Regions from separate parts of the Homo sapiens genome. Here region 1 is linked to region 2. Evidence: promoter capture Hi-C in 16 types of primary human blood cells and fetal thymus (Javierre and others, 2016). All regions are on one chromosome and are shown on one strand. The core of a region is centred on a gene start or on the middle of the fragment in contact, and the rest is flanking DNA. Distances in the headings are between cores, read along the strand shown. Region 1 overlaps CEP41 (centrosomal protein 41). Region 2 holds the start of MESTIT1 (MEST intronic transcript 1, antisense RNA).

Region 1 (6,070 bases), core at 2,996-5,495, 88 kb before region 2:
AATGATTCCAGGGACAATCTGCCAAGTACAGTTTTAAGCTAATGAAGTCCTAGCCTACAACCACTTTTAAGCTAATGAAGTCCTATGCAGTATCTACTTTAGGCCAACGATGGCCTACTCCTCATCCTTGAGATCAGCCTGAAGGTGGGGAGGGGGACAGAAATGAAGGGAAACCCAGATAGGTTTTTTTTCCCTTCCTCTCCAACATCCCCAACAAACCTAGTCTGTCCTCCACTACTTCCTTGGTAGAGAGGATGCAGACGAGGAGTGATTTGGGGAAAGAAAAGAGAAAGCAGTACGGTGAAACTAAGGTAGGAAGACAAACCACAGAGGCTCTCAGAGTGGAGAAGCAAAAGCTGCAGAAGGAATCGAAAACTTTCCAAGAAGGAATCTGAAGGTCTGATGCTTAACTCCTCAATTTTACCTGAGATATACTTTTTGATGAAGTCTCTACATTTTTGCCTGGGCGTGGTGGCTCATGCCTGTAATCCTAGCACTTTGGAAGGCTGAGGTGGGTGGATCACTTGTGGCCAGAAGTTCGAGACCAGCCTGGCCAACATGGTGAAACCCTGTCTCTACTTAAAATACAAAAAAATTAGCCTGGTGTGGTGGCGGGCACCTGTAATCCCACCTACTCGGGAGGCTGATGTGGGAGAATCGCTTGAACCGGGGAGACGGAGGTTGCAGTGAGCCAAGATCATCCCATTGCATTCCAGCCTGGGTGACAGAGCAAGACTCTGTCTCAAAAAAAAAAAAAGTCGCTATGTTTTGATAAAGTCTCTCTTCAATGCGTAATTCTTGCCACTATCTGGGGTCACCTCCACTGCCTCCCCTCCCCAGCACCTGTAACATACCTCCCTAGTATTTTAAGAATCTAAATATAAGAGATGAAGGTTTTCATATGATGAGGTGATATTCAAAGCTGCAAACCAAACATTATCTTTAAAGGTCAAAAGATCTTACTAGGATGATCTGCAGGCCCTTGCTCCTCTTCCAGATAATATTCTATCTTTTTTAAGTCTTCTGGGGTAAATCTCCATTTATTCTCAGCTGGTAGGGGTGGCCCTTTGGGGCTGGATCGTTTCCGGGCAGACCCAGGAGGAAGGGCCTGCTGGCAAGATGCTGGCAGGGAACCAGTAATCAGTCCTTCCGGGAATTTCTGAGCTAAGACTTTTAGACCTAGGTTTGGAAAATCATCAGAAAAAGCTGCATTAATATGGCAAGGCCAGGCCAAAACCTGGAAAGAAGCCTGCATGTCTTCTAATCTCTGGTCATCAAGTTGAGGCCAACACAAGGACATGAAATCTTTCTTAACTATTTCATCATTAAGCAAATTATACCAGAAAATATCTGTTGTTACATGGGATTCTGAGAATTCCACAAGAAATCCTTTTGCTCGAGTCTTCAGCATTAGGGCTTTGTGACAGAGCCCTGAAGCAACATCAGGAATTAAAAACATGTGCTGATGAAGCTAAGGGAAGTTTCACATAACTCCTGACTCCTTTCAGCCAGCATGGCTTTTTCTCTTTCCAGAACACTGAATTCTGAGCACCAAGAGAGAAAAGGGGATGCAGGTGGGACTGAAGGATGATCAGCCTTTGAAGTCCCAAGCAGAGTATCACCTTGCTCACCTCCGGAAAGCATGAAGAGGTTTTCAAATCCACGCTCGCACATGGTGGTGGCCGCCTGACTGGCCAGCCTTTCATCATCGTCATACAGAATGATGATCTTGCCATGGGCATTTTTCTAAGAGTCAGATGAGTTAAGGTTCCAAGGCACTGGGCTGATGTCCCAAGACTACGAGAAACCCCCAAGGAATAAAAGGTCAGGTCCACCTGTCTGAGTTCCCGGGAACGATGGACAAGCCCATTCCTACCGTCACACCAGCAGGGACTGGATGGTTTCCCATCATGGAAACCACACAAGCTGGTATTCGTTTCTTTTGCAAACTGATGTTACCATGATCTAAAAGACAGCACTAGTTCCGGACTTTACATCCTTTAGCTCTCTTATCCCTATGACCCTGGAAAGTAAATATTACAATCCCCATTTTACAGATGAAGAAATAGAACAACTTCTATGCCTAATGTGTCCACTGAAGCCTATTTATGACAGTAAAAATGTGGGAGCCATCTAAAAAGTCCAAAATAAAGGAATATTTTAGTAAATCATAGTAAATCTGAAGATATTACACAGCATCAAAAATGTGGTTTACAGAAGGCTTGCATCAGCATGGGGAAATACATCGGGATATGAACTGAAAAAAAGCAGGATACTAAATTACATATATAGTAAGGTTTCAACTTTGTTAAAAAAAAACAAACACACAGAAGACAGTCTGGAATAAAATATACTAATAATGTAATAGAAGCCACTGCTCAACTGTGTGATTATAAGATATTTCAATTTTCCTTTTAATAATTTTTGGTATTTAAATTATTTTCTGCTTGTATAATTTTTATCAATGAAAAAATTAAAATTTTAAAGGAAAAAATTAAAATAGAAAAAAACCCTAAGTTCTGCTATGGAAAGTTTTCTGGGAGGAAAAAAACTCTCTTAGGACTAACTCTCAATGGATCCTAACTCTTAACCTAGTGTTTTTTGGCCCAGGGCAAGACGGTTTGAAAGCATCCGCCTAAAGAGTCAGGATTCTTGGCAATAGCTAGGAATCCAAATTCTAAAATATGCTCAGCCAAATAATATCAAAGGTCCTTCACAGCATTCTTACCAGGAGCGTGGTTCATGATAACTTTGATTCTTACAATCCTCATACCACCCAATTCCTTAAAATGCAACAAAGGATACATATTCAAGAATATCATTTGAATAAGGGTTCATTGTTCTAGACAGAGTTGCAATTGGGTAACTGTAAGCTGCAAAGAGAAGAAAAAGTTTAGGAAGTCTGTTGTTCTCTTAATACAACTTGGCCTCAATTCCCAGCTGGTTTAAAATCTAAGAGTTAAATACATCTTCAAAATCCATGAGCTGCTGGGCATGGTGGCTAACACCTATAATCCCAGCACTTTGGGAGGCCAAGGTGGGTGGACCGCTTGAGTCCAGGAGTTTGAGACCAGCCCGGGCAACATGGTGAGGCCTCATCTCTATAAAAAATACAAAAACATTAGCCGGGTGTTGTGGCATATGCCTGTAGTCCCAGGTACTCGAGAGGCTGAGGTAGGAGGATCACTTGAGCCCAGGAAGGCAAGGCTGCAGTGAGCTGTGATCGCGCCACTACACTTCAGTCTTGGCAACAGAGCAAGGTATTAACAAAAAAAAAACAAAAAAAAAAATCAACAAGCCATAAACCTAAACACTTCTGTGAAAGAAAAGAAAGAGCACTATGAACAAAGCATGAAGCTTCACTTCCCTGCTTCTGACAGCCATCTGTGAAAATCAGCAGCCTCTCAAGAGTATTTTATGGTGGAGCCAACCCTATAGGATTCCATAATGGATCCAGCTAACATACGGTTTCCTCAACTGTCTACCATGGGCTGTGGTTCCAGCCTGCCTAGACTCAAGAGCAGGCTCTCTGTTCTTGAGAGTGAGGCACTTTAAAGCCTTCTCTCTCTTACCTCCAACAATGTGGCACTGCTGGTAAGAATCTCTATCACGCACATCTAGCAGCAGGAAGGGGCAGTCAGGATAAGGTTTGTCTTTGGTATGGGGCTCTGCTTTCTTCACTGGCCCTTTGTCTAGATCCAGTTCCCCAACACCACTGATGACACTGCAAGTGAAAAAGTAGGTCAGCAGAAACTAGTCAGAGGTTGGTGGCTTAAAGGTCGAACGTGTCTCTTCAGAATAGTGAGGTGAGTGCTCAATGTCTTTTCAAAGGACGCTTCAAAGGCAAAGGAAAATGGACGTGGTGTCTCAGTTCTGCCTCTGAATGCAGGATCCTGTGGATTTTCTCTTCTACTACACTGGACCCCACAGAGGAGACCCACATGTCCACACTCACCTTCAGACAATGCGTGTCAGTGCATTACATGGCTGAGGGGGTAGGGACTGAAGGGCACATGCTGCCTCTAGCCACAAGGGCAGCATCAGAGGGAGAAAGAGGGGAACTGTGAATCCAGTAGAGCGAAAGAGGGAAGAATATGGTTGGTAGGACAGGAAAAAGGAAAGACATTTCTTTCTACGTGTAAGTAATATAAAGTAACAATAATGCTTTATATATTTCATATACGTAGTCAGTGACATATCTGCTATGGTATTGAGTCTTAATACTTACATAGCTCTCTGTACTTACTCCAGTTTTATAGGTTACAACATTGAGGTTGACGAGGCTTTAGATTTGGTGGCATTCATAGAATGAGGCAGAGGAAGAGCTGGGATTAAAATGAGGAAGCTAACCACTACCACTAACAGTTCTAATTCTAAGGTCATTCAATCACTGAAACTGGTCACCATCTTAATATTATAGGGAAAATGTGGTAAAAACATGAATCAAAGTAATAACAAGACTAGGTGTTATGAACAAAATGGCAAGCAGTGAAATATCCTTACTGGAATAAGAAGATGGTTACTTTCTTAGGAAATATTAAGACTCATATGCTAAATCACAGATTAGTATGTAGCATAGCTCCTTTCCCATAACAGCAAATCAAATTCTGCATTTAAATCCAATAAACACTATAACTCTATGCTATATAGTGCATATTTTGTTGAACCAAAGGAGAAGAACATCTGTTTGATAAGAAACTGCATCCTCAGTGGAAGTCCTGTTGGCCTATCTCTTCTTGAGTGCAATTTTAGAGTCCTCTCGCAAAAGTAACTATAATAATATAAAGCTAAAAGAATAATAATAATGGTGGGATGATGATAGCAATTCTTTCTCTGGTAGAACTAATTTCTCCAGAACTATTTTATCAGTCAAAGGGATGGACATCTGCTGAAAATCAGTACTGCCCTATAATCAACAGTTAATATTAGTTAGAAAGTACTACACGGACTAAAGTCCATGTAATCCTTGGAATAAGGAGGCCCATGCCTTAGAAGAAGGAGCAGAAAAATAAAATAAAAAGAAGGAACAGCCACATTCAGCTTTAGAATAAACACCAAGTACTGCTTTTTCCTTTGCACCTACTCAGTATCAGAGCACTATGTGTGGCACTGTCACTTCCGGACAGGGTATTATAAGCTTCAGCAGTCGGAAAAGGGGGAAAAATCATACTCTCTGAATCAAAAGATAGTATTTGTAAAGCTAATTCCTCATAACAAACTTATATGTAGGAGGGAGAAGAATGGAACGAGAAATGAAAATTAAACTCTCCTATTAATATATTCTCACATTAACTCAGTAAGAATGCAGTGAAAAAGATTCAGGAGGTAGCATTTATATAAAGATAAAGTAGAAGGCTGGGATTAAAATGTGAGACTTTACTCCTGCCAGTTCTGTTTCTAAGGCAAGAAAAAAAAAAGATCCCTGAAATTGGCGTCTAGATTAATATAAAGGCAAAATGCAGTGAAAATATGAATCAGCTTCGAGTACCTCTGAAGAGTTGAGCGGCTGGAGTCCCCTGCTCCTGCGTTGTTTATGAACTGCTCAGGGCTCGGCGACTGCTCACCTGGATTTCCTTTCCCATTGGTCCTGGCAGTGGTTTCAGCATCAGGGTCTGAAGCTGCAGAATCATTGTCTAATATTTACAAATGAAGAAATAATTAGATTGAACCTCAGGATTTGTATTTACTTATTAGTTCCACTGACATTAAGTCAAGAAAAGGAAATCTTATCATCATTATTAAATTGTCGTGGAAGTGCTAACGTACAAGTTCCCAAAGTGTAGTGGACCCCAAACATCCCCAAGGCCCTTTCAGGGGATCTGCAAGGTAAAAACTATTTTCATGAGATGTTACTTGTCTTTTTTACTGTGTTTATATTTGCACTGATGGTACAAAAGAAATGGTGGATAAAGCTGCTAGCACCTTAGTAAGAATCAGGGCTGTGGCACCAAGCTTTATTAGCAATCATTGTATTATTCACCATCACGCATGCATTCACAGTAAATAAGTATGGCAGTCACACTACAAGAAGGTCCCTGTTAAAGCAGTAACACTTACTATTCTTATTACA
Region 2 (5,744 bases), core at 1,461-3,960:
GCTGAGCCACCCAATCCCTCTAGACAGCCCCTATGTTGGAAAATTCTTTATGTTGAATCGACATCTGTTTCTCTACAATTTGCACTCATTGGAGCCATACAGAATAAAATGTCTAATGCTGCTTCCACAAATATTTGAGGACTGCTAACACATTTCCTTCTTCTACTTACTCCACAAGGCTTCTTTTCTTCAAACCAAACATGCCCATCTATTTCAAACAGGGAGGCAGTGTGGAGTAGTGGAAAGAAGGCCAACTTTGGAGCCAGGCACATCTGCGTTCAGTTCCCAGCCCCTTCACATCCTAACACTTAGCGTTCCGAGCTGCCGTATCTCTCTCTGAAATCTGTGAGTGAAAATACTCATCTAGCCAGGCTACTGTGAGGATCAGGGATATGTTGGGTGAAGATCCATGCTCATGGTAGGAGCTTAAAATACGAGAACTGTTACACCTTCAGTTTGCAATTCATTTAGTTGACCTTCTCTGAACACATTCCTATTTGTCTCTGTTTCAATATGTATCTGCTCTGTAGAACAGAATAAAATGCTTTCTGTGAGTTCTAACCAGCATAATAGAGTAGGATTAGCTTATTTTTGGTACTTCCCCTCAGTCTGCAGTCACAGTAGCCTTTTTAAGGGTCCTGTCTTACTGATTCAGTAAGTTTCTCAACCAAAACCCCTTCGTTAACATGTGCTCCTGTTCAACCAAGTTTCTCCCATTATGAAGTGTTTTAGTTGATTTGAATCTACAATGATGGCTCTTGAAAGTGGCAGTCCCGGTTGTGTCTTGTTGTCTCCATAAATATCCTGCACTTGTCATATTATGGGTCTCAAACTGGGGTTAGAAAAATATGGTTCTTGAATCTGTGGTACCATCTCTGCTGATCCCATACCACTGTTGTGAATCAGCGAGATAATAAATGCAGAGCTTTCTACATGAATTTTTGCACAGATCTGAGGTCTTATCATGAGGCGGAACTGTGTTAGACTTGGAATGTGACAAGAATGTGTGATAAGCCACTGGCTGAGGGAGTACTACTGCATGAGATATCCTGCACAGTCCAGGATAGCATCTGTCCAGAGGAACTGAAAGGGTGCAACTTCGAGCAAGCCAGAGCCGACTTTGAATTTATGTGTGGCTGTGTGTTTTCTCAGGGCTCCAAGTGTTTTATACCTTGGGTCAAATTCTCCCCCTGCGGAGGAAGCTCCTTTCTGGAAGTAAATCAGGCACATTTAGAAGATTCGTTAACTCTTTGGCTCCTGGGGGATTATGGCCAGCATTTTCTCTCTTAGACTTCCCACAGCGAATTCCTGGTTGGGCCAAGCTGATATCTTTGAGCTGACTTCTGTACTCAGGGTTCTTCCAAACAGGAATATGCTTTCTCTGCCTAAGATCTGGGTTCCATGCCCATCTCAACCTCAATCCCTCCTTCAAGGAAGTTTTTCCTAACTCCTCGGCCAGACATCAATAATGTCTGAAGGGAGGATTTCTCCCGAGTGCCAGACTTGGAATTCCTGTTGTCTTCAGGAGCTCTCCCTGGCGCTCCCTCCTTCCCCCAGGGCCTTTAAACTGTTTCTCCTCCAGTCTGCCCACTTGATCCATGTGGGTAGACATGTTCCATGGCCTTCAGAATAAGATCTTTTGTGGGGTACTCAGTCCATAAACAGAAAATTGCCTTCATCTTGGATGCTGGTGTTTCTGGCCTGGTGAGAATGAAAGTGTGGAATTTGTTTGTAGGACTCAAAGTTTCCATTAACAATAAATATGAAAAATATATAATGCAAAGGCTTTTGTTATTGTTATTATTAAAATAGGAAAGCCTTTACCTTTTTGGAAGAACCGATTTAGATTTTGCAGAGTAATTCAGTCTTTAAAAGGTAGTGGTAGTTAAAATAGGTAATCTTTGACTTGTAAAGAGACTAATTTAAATTTTGTTAAGTAACCAATTAAGGCCATAAAGAGTTTAAATCCATCTGTGGCTTCTCATTTTCTCTAGAACAAATTCCTAATTCCCTACGATGAAATTCTCTTGCTATCCTAATTTTTTGCCGGCTCAAAGGACTAACCGTTTTCCCCAAACACGCGGCCCTGAGCCTCCGGTGCTTTGCGAAAGCCGTCCCCTCCGGCTGGAATGTTCTTTGTCTCTCTGGTAAATGTCTATTCATCATTCAAGACCACCCTTCGCCCCTCCCCTTAATTACTTCCTCCCCTGTGCGCCCTCAAATTCTTGTACTCATTCAAGCAGTATTTATTAGGGGCCAGCTTTGTGGCCGGCACCGTGGCGGGCTCTGGGGCTACAAAAGGTGAATAATACTTGGGCTCTGCCTCTGAGGGCCTTACACGTTAGGGAGGAGTGGGTCAACTGCCACAAACGTCGCTAGGAAATTAAAAGGAAAATTTTACAAAGTGGCAGTTCTTGTCTGTCTTCCCCTCCAGATGGCCCGTGTGTTGTTTTCGGGCCGGGGCTATTTCTCATTTATTTCGCACCCCCGGTTCTTAGTGCCCTGTAGGTGCTAAATCAGCATTTGTTTCATGAGTGCTTTTTCTGGGGGCAACCAGACCCCTGCAGAAGTGTACCTGTGTTGTGCCAGAGGTTCTGATGATAGGCTTATAGGCGGTAGTTTCCTCAGTGTCCGTGGGTCGCCCCCGGTCCCGGGTTGGATGCCCCGCGGTCCAGCACCGAACCTTTCGGGGTGCAGAGTTGCAGAGCCGCGGAGGGCCCGGGCCGTGCGCAGCCGAAGGGAGGCCTGCAGCGCCCCCTCTGGATGCAGCGGGCACCGGCCGGCCGCCCCGCTCACCCGCTCGCACCCCACGTTTGTTCACCAGTATTTCAGTTTACGGTCAGAAAATGAACACAGACACTTCGTGATACTCTACACTTTTCAAAGGCGTAAGGGATGCCTTTTAAAGGATTATGGATTAGAAAAATTCCTCCCTCTTTCTTGTGCCTCTGGGCCCTTGCATTGTGATTCTATCTTACGTAAATAAAGGGGGCTTTGCTCTCCTAATTGTGCCCACTGTTCTGTGCAGCGCGGACCGGCGCATGCAGCGAGCGGGGCTGCGAGGGCGCTGCTGTGGCCAGGCGTCTGGCATGCTGACCACGTCGCGCTGCTGTAAAGGAAACCTGCCCCGCGCAGCGGCGGTGGCTGGAGCGGGAGAAACCGGACTTTGTGCAACTTTGGCCATAGTGGCCATCCCATGAATCTGTTTACTAGCTTGGTGGTGGGTCCAACAGAGCTTGTTGCTCCCTAGCCGCTTGCTCGTGCCCTTGGTGGTTACCGGTAGTTAAGCTTAGGGCGCATAGGGCCCTCGTGGCTCGCCACCTCTCACGGTTCAGTACCCACGCTTCGAACGAGGGATGGGAGCAGGCGCCACGGCCGGCACCCCAGAGCCCTGCTGCCCCTTAGTTCGAGCGGCCATCCTCCTGTGGGGCTTGTGGGCAGCCTGTGGGGTTTGTGGGCGGCCTGTGGGGTTTGTGGGTGGTCTAAGGAAAGAGTTGGGGCACTCAGGGGTCTGCTGTTTTTGCCCGTGGCCTTAACTCATCAGGGGAGGGTTTCTGCAGCAGAATCTCGGGCTCAGGGTTGGCGGTTAACGAGGGAGCAGCGGGGTCTTGGGGAGGGGGCTCGACACCCCTGAAGGTGCCCCCTAAAGGAGCCACTGTTAGAGGGGCACCCCATCTTTGTGGCCATGGCGGTGGTAGAGCGGCTGGGAGGGGCTCTGCGGCGAGCAAGGGAGCAGGCGGTAGGGGTTCTGCGGCGATGGGCGGGCTAGGGGCGGGGCGCGGGTGGGCTCTAAAAGTCGGTGCCCACTCGCTCCGCGCTGCCGCGGCAACCAGCACACCCCGGCACCTCCTCTGCGGCAGCTGCGCCTCGCAAGCGCAGTGCCGCAGCGCACGCCGGAGTGGCTGTAGCTGCCCGGCGCGGCGCCGCCCTGCGCGGGCTGTGGGCTGCGGGCTGCGCCCCCGCTGCTGGCCAGCTCTGCACGGCTGCGGGCTCTGCGGCGCCCGGTGCTCTGCAACGCTGCGGCGGGCGGCATGGGATAACGCGGCCATGGTGCGCCGAGATCGCCTCCGCAGGTGAGTGTGCGGTGGGAACGAGGGGGTGTGGCTGGCGGCCCTGGGACTAGGGCGCAGGCGAGCGGAGGACTGTGTGCCCGTGTCCGAGCTGGGGCTGCCTCTGGGCGAAAACTCTACCGACAGGCGGCACGCATTCCGCGCCCGCTCTGCCTACTTGAGGAGGGGGTGTCACTCCTGCCCGCAATGGAATGTTCAGAACGCGGGACCTCCTTGGGTTAGGATTTCTAGACCCCGGGATCGTCGTGGTGAGATTTAGGATTTCTGGACCCCAGCGTCATCTTGATATGACTTAGGATCCATAATGACCCTGGTCTCACCCTGATGCGAATTGGGATTTTTAGATCCTGGCATCACCCTGGTGCGATTTAGGATTTTTATACTCAGTCATTGCTGCAGCATGATTTAGGATTTCTAACCCCCAGCATCGCCCTGGTTTGATTTAGGATATTTAGACTCCGGCTTCCCTCTGGTGCGATTCAGGATTCTTAGACTCCGCCGTTGCCGTGGCGCGATTTAGGATTTATAGATCCCGGCAAAGCCCTGGTGCGATGTAGGATTTTTAGAACCCCAGCATCGCTCTGGTGCGACTTAAAGGATAGGCCCCAGCATCGCCCTGGTGCGATGTAGGATTTTTAGAACCCCGGTGTCTCCGTGGCGCACCTTAGGATTTCAAGAACGGGATAATCGCAGTGCCGAGATCGCCGCGGTGCAGCTTAGGATTTCAAGACCCAGGTATCACGGTGGCGGGAGTCACCGCAGTGACTAGAACTCGCAGTGCCCGTCAGCCGCCTTAAGTATTTTTCAGATTTCAGTAACAAGCGCGAGTGAGAACGGCGATGTGACCAAACTGTCATGTTGCGCAGGGATTGTTCACCTTGGTTTCGCGGGTTTTCAAAGTGGTTCGTCTCGCGGCGACGCCATCAGGTGGGCGGCAGGTTGGGTGGTATTATTACGGGAGTGTGTTTTTCTGTTTACAAGATGAAGAAATCAAGGCTCAGAAATTTTTGGAAAGTTTGTTACTGGAGTTTGCTTATTGTCTCCGCTCATGGCTCATCAAATAGTTGGGATTTTGGCCAAAAAATGTTTGCTTAACCCATTTTGCCTACTGACGGCTAGGTTGCTTCACTTCTAAAAATCCTAAAAGTTCATGGGGGCATTTTTACTGAGGTAATAAGACAAAAAATGGCCCCCTGAGAGGTTGCCTCTTTGCTTTCTTGGAGTAAGAGGAGGAGGGTGTGGAGGGGGGTGTCCAGGAGTGGAGTATGTTGGTCGATAGCCTCGTTTTTTAACCCCCCACTTTCCCTGAGCAGCGGCGGGGAAGCCTCCCCATTTGCCGCTCTGGCCGCCCCTCCCGGGGCTCTCTGCTGAGTCACTGCAGAGATTCAGCTGCTGGAACCCCGGGGATGAATGCGATGAGAAGCACTGGGGGAAAGGAGTAATGAAATCTGCACATGAAAATGTATACATTGAAGTACAGGACAGATAGGGCTGGGCAAATGATCGTCAAAACCTAATGGTTTTTGTCATCTGACCTTTCAAGGAGATACTGGGATACAGCCTGCTATTGTTGGGTGAAAACTGTGATATAACCATCATGTTCTGGCACTTTTTTGAACCATTTCTAGTATTACCTTGAGAAGTAGGACCAAATGGTTCTATCCGTCTTATGGA

The links. The method cuts DNA at HindIII sites, captures the fragments that hold promoters and counts their contacts. A CHiCAGO score of 5 or more calls a contact.
Region 1: a fragment that was not itself captured here is called in contact with the fragment with the promoter of MESTIT1 in region 2 in 1 of 17 cell types (megakaryocytes); the score reaches 5.5 in megakaryocytes.

The regions. Positions count from the first base shown.
Region 1 is chr7:130,399,076-130,405,145 of GRCh38, forward strand. It overlaps CEP41 (centrosomal protein 41), which reads right to left. Exons shown (of 11, transcript NM_018718.3): 6 at 5,489-5,633; 7 at 3,573-3,724; 8 at 2,806-2,873; 9 at 1,632-1,746; 10 at 964-1,179. Among named protein-coding and RNA genes, the nearest start is that of CPA1, 22 kb to the left of the region's middle. The HindIII fragment of the contact is 1,780 bases long and covers 3,356-5,135 here.
Region 2 is chr7:130,488,267-130,494,010 of GRCh38, forward strand. It overlaps MESTIT1 (MEST intronic transcript 1, antisense RNA), which reads right to left and starts at 2,711. Exons shown (of 2, transcript NR_004382.2): 1 at 2,576-2,711; 2 at 1-1,701. MEST (mesoderm specific transcript) reads left to right here and starts at 3,819. Exons shown (of 12, transcript NM_002402.4): 1 at 3,819-4,073. The coding sequence starts at 4,048. RefSeq lists a silencer at 2,647-2,856. The HindIII fragment of the contact is 7,997 bases long and covers 1-3,286 here.